2 separate regions of the Homo sapiens genome follow, and region 1 is linked to region 2. Evidence: promoter capture Hi-C in 16 types of primary human blood cells and fetal thymus (Javierre and others, 2016). All regions are on one chromosome and are shown on one strand. The core of a region is centred on a gene start or on the middle of the fragment in contact, and the rest is flanking DNA. Distances in the headings are between cores, read along the strand shown.

Region 1 (5,302 bases), core at 1,996-4,495, 760 kb before region 2:
CCACAATGGTATGAGTTTTCCATAGGGATGCCATAACTAACTCCCACAAACTGGGTGGCTTAAAACAACAGAAACTTCTTTGGTTAGAGTTCTGGAGGCCAGAAGTCCAGGATCGCGGTGGAGCTCTAAAGGCTTGAGGGAGGAATCCTTCCTTGCCTCTTCCAGCTGCTGGTGACTTCCAGGTTCCCTAGAAACCCTTGGCTTGTAGACCCATCCCCCAGCTTCTGCTTCTGTCTTCACATGACCTTCCTCCCTCTGTGTCTCTGTGCATCCTGTCTGTCCTCTCCTCTGCTTCTAAGGACACCAACCATTGGATTTGGGGCCGCTCTAATTCAGGATTACCTCCTCTTAGCTCATTGCATCTGCATGAATTCTGGGGGACACTATTCAACTCAAGACAACAACTTCCCTTCTTTCCTAACCTTGGCCTCCCAAACTCTGTCCCCTCAATCTCAAGTCAACAGAAAAGCATCAGGGAGAGCTATGTTCTTGGAACCCACGAAGGCAACGGACTAGCAGAAGACTCTCCAGACCTGGTGTTTTTCAGTAATTGTAATTCCAGTTTTTGGGATTCTGGTATTCCAGAATAATGTGCTTTTGAGAAATGCTGAACTATTAGTATTTTTGTGACATGTTTTTTAAAAATTAGAACCATTTACACCTGGGAATGCACTACAGTAGGCGTTTGGATCCAGTAAAGGAAAGCTTGTTTAGAAAGCAGTTTTCTATTCTTCCACAACCCAGAAGGAGGGGAACTACGCTGCCTCCATCATGATAGAAATCTTCACTCTGCTTCAGAGACTTTCCAGCCTGGAATTTGCTCCAGGTGACACACTGGCATCTCCACCTACCCATATTAACACTGGAGAAGATGACCACAAACCAGGAATGCTTTCTCTGAAATAAAACTAAAGCTCATGATCAAATAAAAAAATGTAGTTCCTGCCAACAAAAAAGAAGGGAGGTTAAAATAAAAGATATCTTCTAAAGTGGGGAAGAAGAAATGGAATTACTTGAAGATGAAAAACTCAAAGGATAATATTGGAAATTAGTTTGAAATTTAGCTTGGAACGTCTCACCATTGCCTTGACCAGCCTAGAGTAAACAAAAGGTTTCAGCAGCCGGAAAAAATGGGCACAAAAATATGCTCATGATCCAGATAACATCAAATAGTAGATTTTCATTCCAAATATTATTAGAAGTTTCTTTATCTTGTAGGGTTTAGTTCATTACTTTTGAATAATATTTTATTCATGTCATCTGCTAACAATTAGTATGAGAAGGGTAACATTTTTTTTTTTTTTTTTTGAGACGGAGTCTCGCTCTGTCGCCCAGGCTGGAGTGCAGTGGCGCGATCTCGGCTCACTGCAAGCTCCGCCTCCCGGGTTCACGCCATTCTCCTGCCTCAGCCTCCCAAGTAGCTGGGACTACAGGCGCCCGCCACTACGCCCGGCTAATTTTTTGTATTTTTAGTAGAGACGGGGTTTCACCGTTTTAGCCGGGATGGTCTCGATCTCCTGACCTCGTGATCCGCCCGCCTCGGCCTCCCAAAGTGCTGGGATTACAGGCGTGAGCCACCACGCCCGGCCAACATTTTTAACATTTATATTTCACAGATTTTTGTTTTCACTTAATGCTTCTAATATTTACTTTTTATTTGAAATGTCTAATATTTTAGCTGAATTTTAAAATGTTAGGCATTCTGAATACCTTTCCATAGAAAATATTGATAATCAGTGTTGGTATTTTAGCAATGTAGGGAATAAATACTTGTATTCCTTCATGTTGTTTTTCTCTGGTACTGCAATTATAATGCTGTGCTAATTAGCTATTGTTAAATAGCTGTAAATTAATTTAAATACATTGACTTATAATAAATTTTTTAATTTAAACTAATTTATAGCCTTTACCAATAACTAACCATGTGCCAAGCAACACGTTTAACATCCTACATGGAACTACTTTTGTCACGGCCATTTTTCAAATAAGGAGCCTGAAGTTTACAGGGTTCTGTGACTCGCTCTGGACCTCAGATCTGGGGAGAGGCTGAGCCGTGATTGAAACTCAGACAGTAAGACTGAGCACCTCACCCTTAACCATGACCCCACAGGACAAATAATTAAGAGTGTCAAATAAGTCAGCCAATACATAATAACCATCATTTTCTAGCCATCTTTGCTTTTGAGTTTATTATGTGCACTAGTACACACAGACTCTAACCCCATAGAGATCAGGCAGGTAAGATAAACTGAAAAAGCAGCTTTTGCTCTTGCTGCCCAGGCTGGAGTGCAATGGCACAATCTCGGCTCATCACAACCTCCACCTCCAGGGTTCATTCTCCTGCCTCAGCCTCCCGAGTAGCTGGGATTACAGGCATGCGCCACTGTGCCTGGCTAATTTTGTATTTTTAGTAGAGACGGGGTTTCTCCATGTTGGTCAGGCTGGTCTCGAACTCCTGACCTCAAGTGATCCTCCCGCCTTGGCCTCCCAAAGTCCTGGGATTATAGGTGTGAGCCACCATGCCCTGCCAGCTCCTGTCAATTCTTTATATGGAGGAAGCAGGCCCAAATTTACCCTATAGAAATCTATATATTTTTAGTGGGTAAAATCCTGTGCATTGAAAATATTGCATGAGCCAAACAAAATATGTCTGTGAGCCAGAATCAGCCCATGGGTAGTCAGCCCTGGCTTGCAGCTCAGTTTGCAGCCTGAGAACTAGACTCCATTTCTTGTTATTGTTGCCTCTCCCAACCATGACTTTTAGCATTCTTTCTGCTTTTGGATGATTGCTCCTTCATTGGTTTAATTTATCACGCACTTTTAAAGAACCAGGCACCTTAAAAGCAGCGCTTTGGAGCAAAACAACATCAAGGCTACTCAACCCCGGACTAGGAGTTCTTGAGGGAGGGGATCACATCTCAGGATCTCCTAGTCCAGGGTTGGGTAGGCTTGATGTTGTTTTGCTTGAAAGTGCTGCTTCTCCAATTTTAAGATGCACACAGAGCACCCAGGACAAACTGCAAGAACACAGATTCTGTTTGAGGTGGCATGGGTGGGGCCCCAGGGTCTGTATTTCCACCAAGCTCCCAGGTGATGCTGATGCAGCTGGCCCATGGACCACACGTGCATAGGAAGAACCTACTCTGGGGAGCAGCCTATGTCTCAGAGGGTTCCTGAGCTGACAGTTGGAGGAGGCTCTGTACTTGGGTTTGGTTTCTCAGAGGTGACCTGGGTCATTCAACCCCCACCTACTAATCCCCTGCCACATTCCTCCCCACATCCTAATTTATCTAGGGATTTAGTCTAGCTGAGATCACTCATAAAGAATTTTATCTACATCTTTGTTCTGCGCTGGCACAAGCATACCTCCTCCTGCGCATCACCCCTTCCTGCCCGGTGCGCTATCACCATCTGAGGGACTTCTGTGCACATCCTTCTGTGTCTCTGTGTCACAGAACCGTGGTGCCCAGCACCAGCCTGATCTTCTTGAGCCTCCTGCTAAGAGCATGACCCTGCTGAGAGTCAGCCTGGAGTCTAGATCCATGCAGCTAGCCCGCTGCAGGACAGGCGGCATCCTGGAGCCCCCAAAGGCAATGGAAGTGTCCCCCTGTGTAGAACAGGCTGTGGGGTCAGGCAGGCAGGCAGAGTGTCACACTAAAGAGAGAGGCTGGGCCAGTGCACTGGAGTATAGACCATGTTATGCACCCAGGAAGCCAAGCTGGTCCAGGCAGGCAGTCCTATTGGTGGGACACTAAAGGCACCTTCCAGTTGGCATCATTCAAGAGATGTGGCTGAAGTTTGATCACCTAATTGGGACCCTGGCCTCGATCTGCAAGGATGAAGGTGCAGGCCACCCTCCAAGGGTGACATTACCTATTGAGCTCCATGGGGGGAGTTCAGTTAAAGGCCCCTTTGCCGTATTGGATCAGGAAGAGCCACCTGTGAAGTGTATGCTGGAGCCTTGCTATCAGCAGGTTGGACAGGAGAAGGCTGTAGGGCAGGGGCCGGGTGCTGGAGGGAAGAGCATGGCACGAGAATGTGGTGGGAGCTGTGCATGCCCAGCCCTTGGAGAAGCCACTTTCCCTCTCTGGATGTCAAGTTTATGAATGAGATGAGGACCATGATAAGATGTGCACCAAACTCACTCAGGACTTGAGCTCTGAGGGCCAGTGCATTTGCAGGAAGAGACCAGCAAGGAATGTTCGAAGGTTGTACCCACAGGATGGAGCCCAGCAGGTCAGAACAGAGGGCCACTTCCTGCATTTAAATTCAGAAACTCATTGTCAGGGCCAGTTTCATGGCCTTTAACTAGGGCATGTGCTCAGTGACACCCTTGCCTCTTGAAGGGCTCTGCATTTAGAATTGAATGCTCTGTGGTTAGTGTCTTGAAATTCTTAATCATTCTATCTTTAAATTTGTGTTTTTTAAGTGAAGTCGAGTGGGCCAGTGGAGCGTATGCTGAGGGCTGGGGCCCTTCTGCAGTCCTGCCTCCTGCTGCCTCTGCCTCCGCCTCCTGTGAGTGGGTTTTCCTGGCTCCCTCCTGCCTCCTGATTCCCAGGCCTCTGCCCCGCCTCTCCTGGCCCTGCCCAGTGGCTATTGCTGTCTTCCCCTCATGCCCAGTGGAGGCCTGACCACAGGCATGAGGAGGGCTGGGGTTGGGGTCAGGCACCCCAGAGTGTTTTGGGGTGGAGTATGCTCAGGGTCGGCAGTGCCAGTGCCACAGGGTGGGTATCTTTGTGGGGATGGGTCTGTTGCCCATCCCCAATCCAGGTGCCTAGTGCATGGCAGAGTGGAGGCTGAACACCCTTGGGGGTGGCCTGTCCACTGCAGGTGGGGTAGCAGGCTGTCGGAAGAGGAGCTGCCTGGCTGGACTTCCTTGCCCAGGTTGGTGTCTGTATGTAGAAAGGAAGGCTCCATAGGAGAGCTGGGGAGGCTGAGCCCAGGAGTCATCTCCCTATTGGTGCCCATTTTCAGTACACCCTCAGCAGAGCAGCACGGTCCTAGTGACTGGTGGGAGAGGGACCTGGCTGCTGGTGGGCATGTATGGAGCAACTTGGGGGCCCCTGGGTGTCTGTGAGGGTCTGTTCTCACCCCTTGAGTATCCATGTGCCCAAGGGGACACACCAGCTAAATATCAACTAAAAAACATGGTGCAGGGGCTAGCCCTAGGCCCGCACAGAGATGTGCAGCCCTTCACATCCATTTGTGTGGCCATTGAGCCCCGCAGAGTCCTCCTTCCATCACAGTGGAGAAGCTCAGAGCTGCAGGGAAGCGGGGTGGCCTCCAGGCTCCTCACTGCCTT
Region 2 (4,954 bases), core at 1,188-3,687:
GAGGACAGCTTTATTTATGCTCTTGCAGAATGTACAAGTGGGCCTTGTTTTTCTGGACGGCTAGGGAGCACACTGGCTCACATAGCGTCCATGGTTCCACATTTAGAGTTGTGTCTTCATTCACATTCTTTCCATGCAGCTCACAGCTCCTGGACTGGATGACAGTGGTCACTTTGCCTGGGCCAGTCCCCCGGACAGATGCCAGCTCTGGGCCATGCAGACCCTGAGCTTGGGCTCAGTTTTTGGTCTGGAGCTTGGGCTCAGTTCTGCGGCTGTGTTTCTGGCTGGGGATGGTCTGCATCAGGATACCCGCTGTAACTGACACAGACATAGAGTCTATTACACAGGGCAGGTGGGGGAACATCCAGGAGAAATTAGATTCTGCAGGTGTCAGCTATGCTCAGGCTTGCTGGTTGGAGCCTCCAGCCAAGCTCTGAGGGCTGCCTGCTCCTAGGACAGGCTCTTGCTGGGTCAACTGTGTTTTATTATTCTCTCCCTACCCCTCCTGCTGATGTCATTGACAAAGCTACCCGCCAGTGCCCGGCCCCCGGAACATTCCCCAGCCATCCCACGGTGCTCTTTCCTCAATCAGCCACTTCAAGCAAACACCATTCGCTCCTGCTGCAGAGCAAAGCTTGCTGTTTCTAGGATCCTAAACAAGACATGAGGTCATGCTCTCCACCTGTGAAGAATGAAACGTAAGCTGGGGAAGGAAGGTGCTGAGGAGGGGAGGAAAGCAAATTAGGAAGACCAGCGGCCCTGCCGAAGCTTTCAGCTCATGTTACTCACACCCCAAAGCAAACTCCTCCATAAAATGAGGTTTAGTAATGCAACATTTTCTAACATCTGGAACAAAATGATTTGGGTCAAACAGATGACATATGAACTGACTGTAAATTTGTTTCAATGTGTACTGGGAGGGAGGGAAATTAACAAATATGTCAAATCCATGATCTATTAAGTATTGTTGTTTTCCATAAAGTTCTTCTGTTCAAGAAAAAAAGCAAGTCAATTTAAATTTTCTTTAAAGGAAAATAGTAAGTAAATGTTGATACAGATGGTTGAGGTGTAGCAAAAATCATGGGAAAAAATAACAAATAAATGACTAACATTTTGGGAAGCTTTGCAATAGACGAGCATATTCATGTACATGAGCTCCCCTGACCCTGAATCCCACAGAGCACAGGCATTCTCTCCACTTTAGAGATGGGTAAACTGAGGCTCAGGAAGGGTAAGTATGTGACATGTCAACTGACCAGGAAATAATGGAGCCAGGGCTCAAAATCCTGTGTACTTTTTAAATGTTGGCTCCCATCTCAAGTTGATGGCTTTTGTCTGACCTTTTGGCATGCGTTTGTTTTGGCAAATGGGGAGGTAGGGAGGTGGGTGGGTAAAATTGAGGGGTTCACTTTGGGCCTCCCTCAAAGCATCTCTGAGTGCGGAGCAGCAAGTAATCATCCCCACAGCGAGGTTCTGAAGCTCTCAGGGCAAAAGGCAAGTCTTGAGGCTCCCAGGAGGAGGCGGGTCTGAATGCTCCTGCTGGTTGGAATCTCACACCTTAGTCTGCAGGGCAAGGAGGAGCTGTTCTTTGTGACTTGGTTTAGACAAAAGTACATAGACCTGGGTCCCTGTGGCCCTGGCTGTCAGCCGGTTCAAGGCTGGAGGTGGTGCCAGGCCCCAGCTTGGGGCTGGGACACAGGTTGCTGCCCTTGAAGAGCCCACAGGGGCAGAAGGGACAGTCTACAAATAGACCCAAAGACACAGCACACTGCAAACTTGCAGAGGCTTTGAGCGCTGCACAGAGCAGGACACCCAGCGGGGGCCAGTCATCTCCGCTTTCTCAGGCCACAGTCAGGGAAGCATAAAAAAGAACCTTGGAGAGAAAGGGGGAAAAAAACCCACTCTTGCATTAAATCCTGGTAGCAAGCAGACTATCCTAGGGCCAGCTTGGGAGAGTAAGGAAGGCACTCTGGGAGCTGGCATGGCACAAGCCAAGGAAAAGCCAGTGGAAAAAGTTGGGGGATCTGTGGGCAGTTTGGGGAGCAGGTGACCCCAGCCTGAGACAGAAAGCAGCCATTGGGAAGGCAGGCATGAGCCCACCTCAGGGTTGAAGGGAGGCCAGCCCTTCCCAGAGGTGGAGAGGGGAGCCTGGCAGAACGGGACTTGTCCACTGGTGCTTGGACTTTGCAAACAACCGGGCTTGCTGTAGCCAAGCTTACCAAGTGGACACTTACCTTGCCTCTTCCCCGATTATTTCATATCCTTCTGTAACTCTCACCCTGAGACCCAGCCTGGCCTTCCCCTAGCTGCAGATTATTCTGCTCCAAAAGCACAGCAGAGGACGGCTCCTTACTCGAGGAATGCGGGCGGCGGTCGTCCAGAGCCGATGATGAAACGGGCTATTTCTGCCCCGGGACATCAGCAGGGCTCTGGGCTCTGGCTCCAAGGCACACACTCTCCTGTTTTTAATGTTTCCCTAAACAAATGTTTTCCTTCCCACCTCGGGATATTTTTATTTGACTCTAGGTGCTGGAATAGCTTTAGCAATCATTCTGGATTGAAGTTGGAATCGTGGTTAGGGTCCGGCTAAGCGGCAAGCAATTTCTCACTCCCCAAGTGATCTGTTACTCGTGGCTGATTTGGAAGTAAAAATAGCAGCTGAGGCTGTTTGTTTAATCTGACTGTTACTTGACACCACGCGGGTGTTGCAGTGCGGACTGTTTGCCTCTTCCCCACCAAGAACACCATTTGGTTTCCCCCGGCTGGGTCTCTATTTAGGTAAGCTTCGCGGACTTCCCGTGTCTGGCCGGCTTCTGGTCACTGATCTTCCTCAGGTGGGTAGGTTTGTGAGCTAGAGGAGGCTTGGGTCCTGAATCCACTCTCCTATCACCTTTGGGCAGCCTGGATAAAGAGGAAAGAAGTCTTGGCTGCTGGGCAGAGCCGGGTTTCTCTCCCATTCCCGAGGAGGCCTGAGCAGCTGGACACGCAGAGAGCGGAAGGTACAGCCCAGACACTTGTCTGGCTCCTTAGCGTGGGCAGGGAGGCTCAAGTTCATGGCGGGAGGGATGTTCCCGCTGGGCCGATGCTGTGCTGGGGAAGTAGTTCGGTGCCAGGGTGCTGTGCAGGGTGGTATGTGTGTGCCGGGAGCCCATTGGTGTTGGGGCTAAGGTTCTTGGTGTGCTGGATGGGCCTCGGGGACCACGTACCCGGAACCGTGTACATGTGTGACTTTGTCCTTAGGTGTCATCTGTCAGGGATCTCTGCTCCCACATGGCTGAGTGCACAGATGTGCCCAGGCCACTGCGCTGTCAAATGGGTGACCCCATGGTCCCAGGTTTTCAGCATTCAGGGCTGAGGGAGGCTGGCTTTCTTAGCTCCCCCAGCGCTGGGCCAGGCAGGGTCACACCAGCTGTAACAAAGAGAAAAACTGGTGACTGAGACGTTCTGGCCTGTGGGCTCTGCGAGCATGTGTGTCCCCAAAACAAAGCCCGCCACAGGCTGCCTGTTCTTACACACCCTGGGAGGGCCCCCACCAGACTCCCACAGGGTATGCTTGACTGAGTCTAAAATTACCTCTTTTATTTTCTGGTGGAGAAGAATTGAACATTGAGAACGGCAGTGGTCAATGTGTGTGGAAAGCTAGATAGCCTTAAGAAAAATCATTGTGTAGGCCTTTCAGGTAGCTCCCTAAGTATAGGAACCTGGGAAGCAGATTAAACAGATGTGTGTAGTAAATGAGGTCCTGTTTTCCAGCATTTGAGTTCCCTTTGCAGTAGTGGCTGGTAACTCTGGTCTGTGGTCTGAGCATCTGGTTTTGTAAATAAAGTTGTATTGGCACACAGCCACCTTCATTCATTTGCATATTGTCTAAAGCTGCTTCTACACTATATCAGCAGAAACCATATGGCCTGCAAAACTGAAAACGCTTACAATGTGGCCCTTTACAGAAAAAGTTTGCTGACCACTGTGTTACAAGAACACATCTTGAGATGGGTCAATTTAATACAAAAAAAAAAAAAAAAAAAGCAGTGAAAGTTCTTGCTGTTAGAATAGTTTGTAAGCCAGACCCTTCAGGACCAGTGGCTGGCTGGCTCCTGAGCCTCCTGCACCTTCCAGGGCCCACTTTTTAGGCCTGGCTGATACAGGAAATGTCCAGTTTGCTGTCACGGTGCTGGGAGGGTTAGCTTAGCAGTAGAATCACCAGACACACAGCGTGTCCATGTGGCCTGGGCTGAGCAGGGCAGATTGTGCTTATCGGGGTGATTTATAAATAGCCTTCCCCGGGTGACCCAAGTCCAACACACATCTGCCCCTGGGTCTCTGGGAACAAGTTTGTCTGCTCTTGGATGACCAGAAGCTCACTGGGAAGGGAACAACTGTGTGCGGTGGGTAAGAAGGGGGCTGGTAGAATGCTGTGTCCTGGAGCAGAGGGGCTTAGGTCTCCTGGAACCTGGGGAGAGAAAGCTGTTGAGAGTAGACAGGAAGGCCAGAGATGGCCTTGCATCCTCCCACCTTGATTTCTTTTTGCCAGGACAGAAGTAAGTGTCTTTGTCTTTTCCTGACCCTAAGGAAGCCCTGGAGACCCTTACTGAAGAGGGGAGGCCTCATGTCTTGAAATAGCCCTATTCCTCCAGTCTCTGCCAGAAATCTCAAGAACCCAAGCCTGCTGGTGGCACCAGAACTGGGCCGTCTTCCTCATTGGCTCTTGGGATTTTACTCCATATGCCCTGGGTTACTGGAGGGAAGCAAAGGGCTTTGAGAGAAGGCCACGCTACAGGGGCACACAGGGCTGCTGCTCCCCAACAGGGTCCATCGAGGCTGGAGTGGATTTTGGTTTTATTTCCATTTGAGAGTTTAAACCTCATTTCACAAAATCCAGCCAGTCCATAGTCTTTATCTCAATCATATGCTTCATTTAGTTAATTGGAAAAATCTCAGACACCCCCTCATTTCT

The links. Contacts are between HindIII fragments. The CHiCAGO score rates a contact against its expected background, and 5 or more counts as called.
Region 1: a fragment that was not itself captured here is called in contact with the fragment with the promoter of C10orf71-AS1 in region 2 in 1 of 17 cell types (neutrophils); the score reaches 5.2 in neutrophils.

What each region holds. Positions count from the first base shown.
Region 1 is chr10:48,538,002-48,543,303 of GRCh38, forward strand. All of the region lies in intron 3 of ARHGAP22 (Rho GTPase activating protein 22), which reads right to left. Among named protein-coding and RNA genes, the nearest start is that of ARHGAP22-IT1, 29 kb to the left of the region's middle. RefSeq lists an enhancer at 4,953-5,302. The HindIII fragment of the contact is 5,085 bases long and covers 704-5,302 here.
Region 2 is chr10:49,296,456-49,301,409 of GRCh38, forward strand. It overlaps C10orf71-AS1 (C10orf71 antisense RNA 1), which reads right to left and starts at 2,438. Exons shown (of 2, transcript NR_108038.1): 1 at 2,235-2,438; 2 at 1-318. C10orf71 (chromosome 10 open reading frame 71) reads left to right here and starts at 2,715. Exons shown (of 3, transcript NM_001135196.2): 1 at 2,715-2,778. RefSeq lists a silencer at 591-768. The HindIII fragment of the contact is 569 bases long and covers 2,213-2,781 here.